2 separate regions of the Homo sapiens genome follow, and region 1 is linked to region 2. The links are contacts of gene promoters, found by promoter capture Hi-C in human tissues and cell types (Jung and others, 2019). All regions are on one chromosome and are shown on one strand. The core of a region is centred on a gene start or on the middle of the fragment in contact, and the rest is flanking DNA. Distances in the headings are between cores, read along the strand shown.

Region 1 (4,609 bases), core at 348-2,847, 63 kb after region 2:
TCGTTAGAGAAGGATGAACAGCTACCTCCCTCAGCTTCAGAGATGGGTGAAATCAAGACAGAGAAACAATTATCTTCAGAGAATTCCTAACCATAACCAAAGTCACATTTGGGGTTTATATCAGTCAAGGTCCCAGGATGATAAAGATGACACATACAAATTAAGGTAATTTGAGGAAGGTTTAATAAAGGAACTATTATAATTTGGGGCACAGTTTTTTTCTTTTTAAGTAGATGAATTGGCTCTCCAGTCTGTGGCTCTCCCATCCCATCCCTCCCCACAGACCTCATCTGACGGCTATTGCCCTTTGGTAAGATAGTGCCTTCTGGTTATAACAGCCTAGGCTGCTACAGCCATTCAGAGCTCTCTGACCCAAAGATTCCCATCTGCTCCCACGCCCCTGCTGCTGAGCAACATCACCTAGACACAAAGGTCCCCACTCCCATCTCCTCTCCAAGTGTTCCCTTGCTCTCCTCCCCTTCTGGATGGTGGCTCCTGCACCTCAAGCCTCTAGACAGTCTCATGCTATGAGGAACTTCCCTCTCACACAACCCTACTCAAGCCCCACTCAGTAAAGTTTGCTGCCTCCCATGGTCGCATCTTTTTCTTTGATCAGCTCCCAGATCCCTCAAACCCCTACAGATCTGTATCCCAAATATATAAAGAGCTCTCAAAACTCAATAAGAGGCCAGGTGTGGTGGCTCATGCCTGTAATCCCAGCACTTTGAGAGACCGAGGTTGGCGTATCACCTGAAATCAGGAGTTCAAGGCCAGCCTGGCCAACATGGTGAAACCCAGTATCTACTAAAAATACCAAAATTAGCCGGGCATGGTGGCAGGCGCCTGTAATCCCAGCTACTCGGGAGGTTGAGGCAGGAGAATCGCTTGAACCCAGAAGGCGGAGACTGCAGTGACCTGAGATTGCGCCATCGCACTCCAGCCTGGGCCACAAGAGCGAAACTCTGTATCAGAAAAAAAGGGAGATAAAATAATTCAAATAAGTTTATATAATACCATTACCAAAATGCTGCTTTCAGGAGAATTAATATTTTCCTTTGTGATTGTTGGAAATCTCACATTTGAAAGATTAGCAATACCTCAGATTATTTTGGCATAAACTTAAAAAGGAGAAAAAAATGAAATATTTAGAAACCATAATTTGAAAAGCAGCAAAATATGTTAATCTGGAAACTAATATATTTTCCTGGGTTACGAGTAAGTGCTTTTTTTTTTTTTTTTGAGATGGAGTTTCGCTCTTGTTGCCCAGGCTGGAGTGCAATGGCACGATCTTGGCTCACCGCAACCTCCGCCTCCTGGGTTCAAGCAATTCTCCTGCCTCAGCCTCCCGAGTAGCTGGGATTACAGGCATGCACCACCACGCCTGGCTAATTGTATTTTTAGTAGAGACGGGGTTTCTCCATGTTGAGGCTGGTCTCGAACTCCTGACCTCAGGTGATCCTCCCGCCTCGGCCTCCCGAAGTGTTGGGATTACAGGCGTGAGCCACCGTGCCCAGCCACAAGTAAATACTTTATCCCCTCATAGAAGCACACGGTTTTACTGCAATTCAGTAGCTTCTCCTTTTTTTCTTGAGACAGGGTCTCACTCTGTCACCCAAGCTGGAGTGCAGTGGTGCAAACACATCTCATTGTAGCTTCAACCTCCTGAGCTCAAGCAATCCTCCTGCCTCAGCCTCCCAAAGTGCTGGGATTACAGGCGTGTGCCACCACCCTGCCCTCAATAATTTCTTTTTCTTCGAGACAGGGTCTCACTCTGTCACCCAAGCTGGAGTGCAGTGGTGCAATCTTGACTCACTGCAGCCTCAACCTCCCAGGCTCATGTGATCCTCCCACCTCAGCCTCCTGAGTAACTGGGATTACAGGTATGCACCAACACCCCTGGCTAATTTTTGTTTTTTTTTTTGTAGAGACAGGGTTTTGCCATGCTTCCCAGGCTGGTCTCGAACTCCTGGGCTCAAGAAATTATCCCACCACAGCCTCTCAAAGTGCTGGGATTACAGGCATGTGCCACTGTGCCTGGCCCCTCAATAATTTCTTAAAGGAAATTACCACATGAGAATTTACACAATGGACACTGAACATCATTCAAACAGGAAATGTAGACTTTAAGGCAGGAAGTATTATTAGAAATAAAAACGAATTTTTTATGACAAAAAGATCAAAACAGAGATAATAAAATTTAAAATATATATGCATGCCTTGCTTCAAATATAGGATCCAAAAGTTGACAGAGTTAAAAGGAGAAATGGGCACAGCCATGGGAGGTGTGAGAAGGGAGCCAGTGGGAAAGCAAAAGACTGAAGAACAAGGAGACTGGGGTGGGGAGTAAGAAGCAAAGAAGGACCTGGGCTTGGCTGGTCCTCCAAGGGACCCAGGGACCCGGTCCAATCATGGACTGAGGACATGGGCTCAGGAGGTGGACTGAGGCCCCCGGAGAGAGCGGCAGGGTGGGAGGTGTAACCTGCACAGCATGGAGCAGTGGGAGCCTGGGGTTCCATCTGGAGACATGGGTTCTAGTCCCACTTGCTGTGTTTTTGGGGCATGTCACTCCATCTCCCTGGGTTCAGCCTCCCCAGGGAAGGACACTCTCTCCACCCTTCCCCAGCCTGGCCCTCACAAACGATGATGCCAAAGCAGTATCCTTCATGTGTGGGGTTAGCGATAGGGCCGCTGGCCAGAGAGAAGATAGAGGCAGGGCCTCTGGCATTGTGTGGAGCCTGGATCTTGCTCTGCAGTCTGGGAGAACCCTGGGCATGGGAGGAAGAGCCAAGAAACCTCTCAGGCTGGATGACAGCCTCTGGGGGCTCACACCGTCCTCTACCCTAGGAGAGGCCAGGGCAAGGTGTGCACCCTGCTGCTGTGCACCTTCTCCTTGTCCTCCTCTGAGGCCTCAGGCAGTCGCCCAGTTGGGTCACTCTTCACCAGGGTTAGGCCTGGCACCTTGGCATGGAGGGCCAGCTCTTGCCCACAGGCTCTAGAGGCCCTGAGGGTCACCAGGGCCCTTCCCCCTCCCGTGACAGCTTGCACAGGATGCTGTCTTTGGAAAGGTGGTTAGGGACTCACACCTTACAGAAGAGGAACCAGAAGCTTGGAAAAGATGACTGTTCCTAGGTGGTCAGTGCCAGGGCCTGGCCAAAGCCCACTTCTCAAGCTCCAAGTCCATGGGGTGTTCCACCAGAACATCATTCCCCATTGAGCAGAGCCTCTGCCTGTCCCCAATGCTACACACACACTTCAAACATATACATCAAACACACAGACACACACACACACAGAGTTCTGCTGCCTCCACTCCAGTCAGCAACCTGGGCTGGGCGCAGGCGCGAGGGTTTGTCTCTGCGTGGGGGCTTGGGAGTGCCCCACACACATTTCTTTGGGTGTAGAGAACCAGGCGTCCTGCCCCTCCCCCAGCTCCGGATGGGTCTGTGCCTGGCCCTGCTGACTTCTGCCCTGAGATGAAGCTGTAGACACAGCCTGTAGTGTGGAGTCTTCCTTGGGTCCCTATTTGCACACCCAGCATCCCACCCAACCTGGAGATAAGGTGAAGAGGCCCAGTCAGCCCCCAAAATTTGGTGTTTCCAAGGTCCTTCAGGTGGACAGTGCAGCACCGCCCAAGGAGCACTAGGGCATGGAGTGCGGTGGAAAATTCTGCAAGCCAGGGGGCTGGAAACCAAGTACTGCTATGGCCGTGACCTTGTGGCCTTGAATGACAAAGCACCTGCTAGGTGCCTCCCAGGACAGCAGGTCCTCAGGCCAGAGGCAGTTTTCTGCCCACTTCTTCACCACTCAGCAGTCCAGAGGCTGCCCTGCCATTCAGGCTCCCCTGCCCTCTGGCTTTCAGGTGGCTTGGCCAACGGGACGGGCTGGCAGGAGTCTGGGCAGTGGGGAGGAACAAGAGGCCAGGGTAATTATTCCCCCAGCATCCTCCCTCTGAAGCTTCCACCTTTAGCCACAGCCCCACTGGTCCTGATGACTACTCTGTCCCTACCCCTAGAGCCCAGGACTGGTAACAGCTGTGCTTCACCATCCCTTATTGGCTTCCCAGAGCCTGCAGCTCTGTAAGTAGTCCCCTCATTAAACTCTCTTCCAGCTGCATCTTTCCTGGTACATGCTGTCAGTTTCCTGCCAGGAGCTGGACTGATCCAGCACTTGATAAATGTTTCTTCATTAAATCCTGCCAGGTGCCAGCTTGGGATCCAACCCCATGACACAGAGTGGCTCCTGCCACATGCCAGAATGTCCCTGCCCTTCTCTCCAGAGGCCCAGTCAGTGAGAGGAGGAGGAACTAGAATCCAGGTCTCCTGCCTCCCAGAGCAAGGCTCCTGTCACTCCACTCCCTGGGGCTTCTTGGGCCTGAGATCTTGAGGCAAGTCTGGTGGTGGAGGAGGTCTTGAGCAAGACAGGCTTGAATCCTCTCTTCCTGGTGGCACCCATTCACTAGGGCAGCAGGTGCCCCAGCAGCACCAACTCACCAGCATGGGTGGAGGGGCCAGGTTAGCAGGTTCCCAGGCACCTGCAGCGTCAGCCAGCATGCAGCTCCTGGCTTCCCACGGGCGCCACTGACTCAGCAGTCAGAGGCTGTGGGTAACAC
Region 2 (4,827 bases), core at 1,517-4,016:
GGCTGACAACTGCTCTAACTGCTTCCTGCTCAACTGGGGCATAGTAGGGGTCGTGCAGTTGAGATTTCCTAGGGAGGGGTGCCTTTGATGTCATCAATATCACAGCATGGGCTAGCAGGCCGGTCCAAGGATCCCTGGTAGATCTTAGTCAGGGACTGCATCTGGGGCTCCATTTGAAGAACATTTGTAGTTTTACAGCTTTGATTCTGGAAGAGACAAACTTAACAAGGAGGTTAAAGATACAGGGATTGAAATGTATGGCCTGAAGTTCAGGGGCATATGGGTGTGGGGCTGAAAGTGGGGTTTCCTTTAGAAAAACTCCTATAAGATGGGGCTTCAATATTTCCGGGAAGCCGCATTCTCCATAGAAGCTCTTGGTAAGGGGAGCTACTGGTAGTATAGCGGCACGGAGGGGATTACCCTATACTAGGGGGTCCTTCTATAAGCCTTTCTAATGGAGGGTCCTGCCTTGTGGCTCTTTGGCTTCAATATCTGCTTGGCGGTTCCCTTTCTATTTCCCTTTCCTTTCCTTTCTGATGACTCCTGCAGTGTAAGACTGCCACCTCTTTAGGTTTCTGTACAGCCAATGATAATCTTCTAATGGCTTCCTGATATTTGATAGGTGTTCCCTCAGAAGTTAGGAATTCTCTTTCTCTCCATATTGCTGCGTGGGCATGGAGGACTAGGTAAGCATACTTAGAGTCTGTATAGATATTTACCTTTTTTTCTTCTCCTAATTCTAGTGTATAATGGCCCCTGTTTTTGCTAGAATGTCTCTCCCTAACAAGGGAATGGGGCTTTCAGGCATAATTAGAAAGGTATGTGAAAATGGTAAAGTTCCCTAGTCACAACTTAGTGTCTGGGAGAAGTATCTAGTGACTGCCTGTCCTAGGACCCCTCGGATAGTGACAGATCTGGAGGACAGTTGTCTGGGACAGGAGAGTAAGACTGAGAAGGCCGCGCTAGTGTCCAGCAGACAGTTAACCTCCTGGCCCTCAGTGGTCAAGCATACCTGGGGAGGGTGATGCCAGGGGCTGGCGCTTGCCCCAGGCACCCTCAGTCCTGCTGCTGGATCATCTGGTTAGTGGCTTCTGACTCAGAGGACCTTCATCCCCTGGGGCAGTGGGCCTTCCAGTGATACCCTTGAAATAAGGGGCATGGATGAGGGGGTGGCTTATTTCTATTCGGACAATCTTTTTTAAAGTGTCCTTGTAGACCGCACTGGAATCAAATCCCTATTAGGCATTCGATTTGCCCAGCCTTTCACTTTTCCAGAGCCTCCAAAGTCCACTTGCCTGAAGGCCATGACTAAAGCGGTGGCCTTCTTTTTATCCCGTTTGTCCAGTTCTGCCTGCTCCTTCTGATCTCTATTATAAAAACTGAGGCCAAGTTCTTAGTTTAAGTTTTGTTCCAGGCCTAAGGCGGATTTTGAAGTTTTTTTCTAATGTCTGCAGCTGAGTGATAAACTTACCCTTTAAGATTAGTTGGCCTTCAATAGATCCAGATGACAGAGAGGTATGCTTCCTCAATGCCTCCCTTAGTCTCTCCAGAAAGGCAGTAGGATTTTCTTCCTTTCCCTGTGTTATAGTGGGCATCATTGAATAATTCATAGGCTTCTTCCTAGTTTTTCTTAGTCCTTCTAGCATGCAAGTTAGCAAATGTCTGCGGCACCAATCTCCACATTCTGATTCTGCGTCCCATTGAGGGTCTACACTGGGAACTGCCTGCTGGCCTGTGGGGAATCGTTCTCTTTCCTCTGTTGTCATCCTATCATTGACCTGACTGAGATACCAGAGATTGCCAAACTCTTGGGCTGCAGTTATAGCGGCACTTCTCTCATTTGGGGTTAGTATCTGATCTAGCAGTAACATTATGTCTCTCCATGTCAGATCAAAGGATTGTCCTAACCCTTGTAAAACATCAATATAGCCATCAGGGTTATTTGAGAATTTACCTAGGTCTATTTTAATTTGCTTCAAGTCTGAGAGGGAAAAAGGTACACACACTCTGGGCTGAATTCTCCTCCTCCCACCACTTCAAGGGGGCATAATCTGGGAATATTGGCACTCTTTGGTTCATTGTTTACCCCTTTCTCTATCTCCTTTGGCACCGTTTGTGTTGAAGGGGGGTCATTATTAGTTGGGGAAGGAGCCGGGGGAACGCCGGGGCAGGGGGGTAGATTCTGAGGGCTTCCTGTAGGGCATAAATCACACTTTTAACATAATTGTGAGTTGTCTCTTAATGAAAAGAAAGTTTGCACATATGGCACTTCGCTCCATTTGCCCTATTTTCTACAAAAGAAGTCTAGCTGTAAGATGGTGTTATAATTTATACTTCCCTTGGAGGGCATGTTTCTCCCTCTTGAAGAGGATATTGTGGCCAGGGGTACTGCAGAAGAATATAAGTCGTTTCTTTCTTAGCATCTGAGGGTCAAATTGGTCCTAATTCTCTAGAATACATCTTAGGGGCGTTTTTGCCTGGGAGGGGGGAACGTTTAAAAAGAACATAGGGATGCCAGCACCCCTAGTCATTTTCTGATGAGCATTAGTCCTAGAGCGTCCTCTGTGGTCCTAATGCTTATTCCTTTTCAGGGTGCGTAACCACCCACGGACCTCTGCTTATCAGATTAGTTACACTCACCGATGTAGCAGTCCTGCACCTGTTTTCCTGCCCTTCTTGACCACAAAGAAAGGGGTCTGGGCTGCTGGATTCTAGTGGTCCTTTACCAGCGTGCCTGACATTGCCTTTGCACTCAGGAGTGAGTTCTAGAGCTGGGCTGGGTTTCTGAGTATTTCATAACAACCCAGTTGCCCCATCAAGATGCATTTTCATAAACAACAGTTCTTATGCAAATTCGTTTCAGAGAGGGTGTAGGTAACCTTTTGAGTCAGGATTGAGATAGAGTTTTTGCCCACTAGGGCCTTTGTCCTTTTCCTTTGTAGGAATATGCCTTAATTATCGAACTTAAGATTTTGTTGCCCTGGATTAAGTCCTTTTGGGTACGAAATATGAGAGATGGCTCCTGTTTATCCTATGTGCCTTTTTCCTACGAGAAGGAGAGCGAGGAGAAAAAGATGGGCTTGCTCTTTTTGTAAGTACTTTAAGGCTTGGCTGAGTGCAAACAGCTCGCAGTTTGTGCAGACCAATTATGAGGCAATTCTCCTAACTCTGCTTCCACAAGAGTTTCCTTATCAATTACTGAATACCCATTGTGGTTTTTTCCTCAATCGCCTGGGAGGAACCATCTATCGTCCTATCCTAAAGGAAGTTCCTCCTAGGTCTGGTTGGACCTTTGCATGGCAATTAAGATTTAAATCCCCTGTTAGGAAATCTGCTGGGTTAAGGGAATTATCAGTGGTTGGTGTTAAATCACCTTTTTCTAACAGAATAGCCCCATACTTTAAGAATTTTGAGCTAGTAAGCTACCTTTTTTTTTTTTTTTTTTTGGTCTTAGGATTGTTCTGAACTGGTGAGGTGTGCTCACAATGAGGTTTCCTCTAAAGGTTATTTTTCTACTTTATTCTGTTAGCAAAGCAGTTGCCACTACAGATTGAATGCATTTGGGCCATCCACGGGTTACTGGGTTCAGGATTTTTGATAGGAAGGCTATGGGTTGTCAGTGGTCTCAGTGTTTTCGGGCTACGCCCTTGTTTACACTGACAACAAGGTAGTATTGGAGTATTATAGGGTCGTGGAGAAGACCTTTAATTATCAATTATAGGTTCTAAATTTACCTTGGCTTTTAAAGGAATAGGGTACACTGTTTTTTCTTTACTACCTCTCTCTTTCCCTTTTTTCTTTCTTTCTCTCTTTGACTTTCTGCCTCTTCCTCTCTCTGTCTGTCTTTTTTTAGATGGATTTTGGAAACGCAGTGGAAGGACGTTCACTTGTTGCCCCAGTTTGCCACTATAGGAACATGTGCCTCCCTTTAATTTACTCAAATTCGTTTTCATCCTGATCTATTATGTTGTTGTAGACTCAGTTCCAGTTGTTAAAATACTGGGTTATCAGTTCTAAGGGCCTGGCCAAGGAGCCAAGGCTTGGAGATTGTATTGCAGGGGGTAGTAAACTGGGTAGAAATTAGGGGAGGAGAGCATCTTACACAATGGGAGAGCGATCTTCCTAGCTATTTACAAACTTGGGGCCCTGGCAAGGGTGGTGGGGAATGGGTCCCACATAACAGCCCATGTTGACAGCTATATACCTAAATTGGGAGGGACACCAGGGGCAAGACTCCCTGGGTTCATAGCCTAGATATCTAAGGCCACAGCATAGAGCTTCCTTAGATCTCTTTGGAGATACAACTTGCTCTAATACTTGGGAGAGGAAATGAAAGTCTGAAGCATTAGTACCTAGGAGGCAGGGATTGGAGGAAGTAGATTCAGAGGTAAGGAGAATTTTTGGGGCTACACTTTCAAGAAAGTCATGGTCGGGACCCAGGAGGTATGGGTCAGAAGGAAAGGTAGGGGTGCACACGTGGGCAACTGTTGAGTAGAGACTTCTGGCTGCACCATGATCTCAACCAGCCAATGCCGGGAGTTCAGGACGACAGCTTTCTGCCTCTAGTCGGCCCTCGGCTTCCCCCCAGGAAATTGTGAAAGCGGAAGCTGGTTCCAGGCAGACCAACGCTCCTAACCCCAAAGGGTTGGGGGTTGTTAGAAAGCCTTTTCCCAGAAAGCCTCACAGCTGAGTCTTAAGTCCAGTGGCCATGCTAATCATTTTTAACTGGCTGACAGGTGCCCGGTATTTCCTCTGATTCTAAGGAAGGATAGGACAGGATAGCAAGCTAAAGTGGTTCAATATTACTCACCACTTTGGAGAATACCT

Evidence for each region. The method cuts DNA at HindIII sites, captures the fragments that hold promoters and counts their contacts. A contact is called where the count stands out against the background at its distance.
Region 1: a contact is called between a fragment that was not itself captured here and the fragment with the promoter of SPINK8 in region 2, in 1 of the 25 tissues and cell types used here (IMR-90 fibroblasts).

Annotation. Positions count from the first base shown.
Region 1 is chr3:48,395,503-48,400,111 of GRCh38, forward strand. No RefSeq gene overlaps it. Among named protein-coding and RNA genes, the nearest start is that of FBXW12, 26 kb to the left of the region's middle. The HindIII fragment of the contact is 3,860 bases long and covers 1-3,527 here.
Region 2 is chr3:48,330,895-48,335,721 of GRCh38, forward strand. SPINK8 (serine peptidase inhibitor Kazal type 8 (putative)) reads right to left here and starts at 2,767. Exons shown (of 8, transcript NM_001080525.3): 1 at 2,641-2,767; 2 at 1,472-1,577. RefSeq lists a silencer at 3,112-3,312. The HindIII fragment of the contact is 10,965 bases long and covers 1-4,827 here.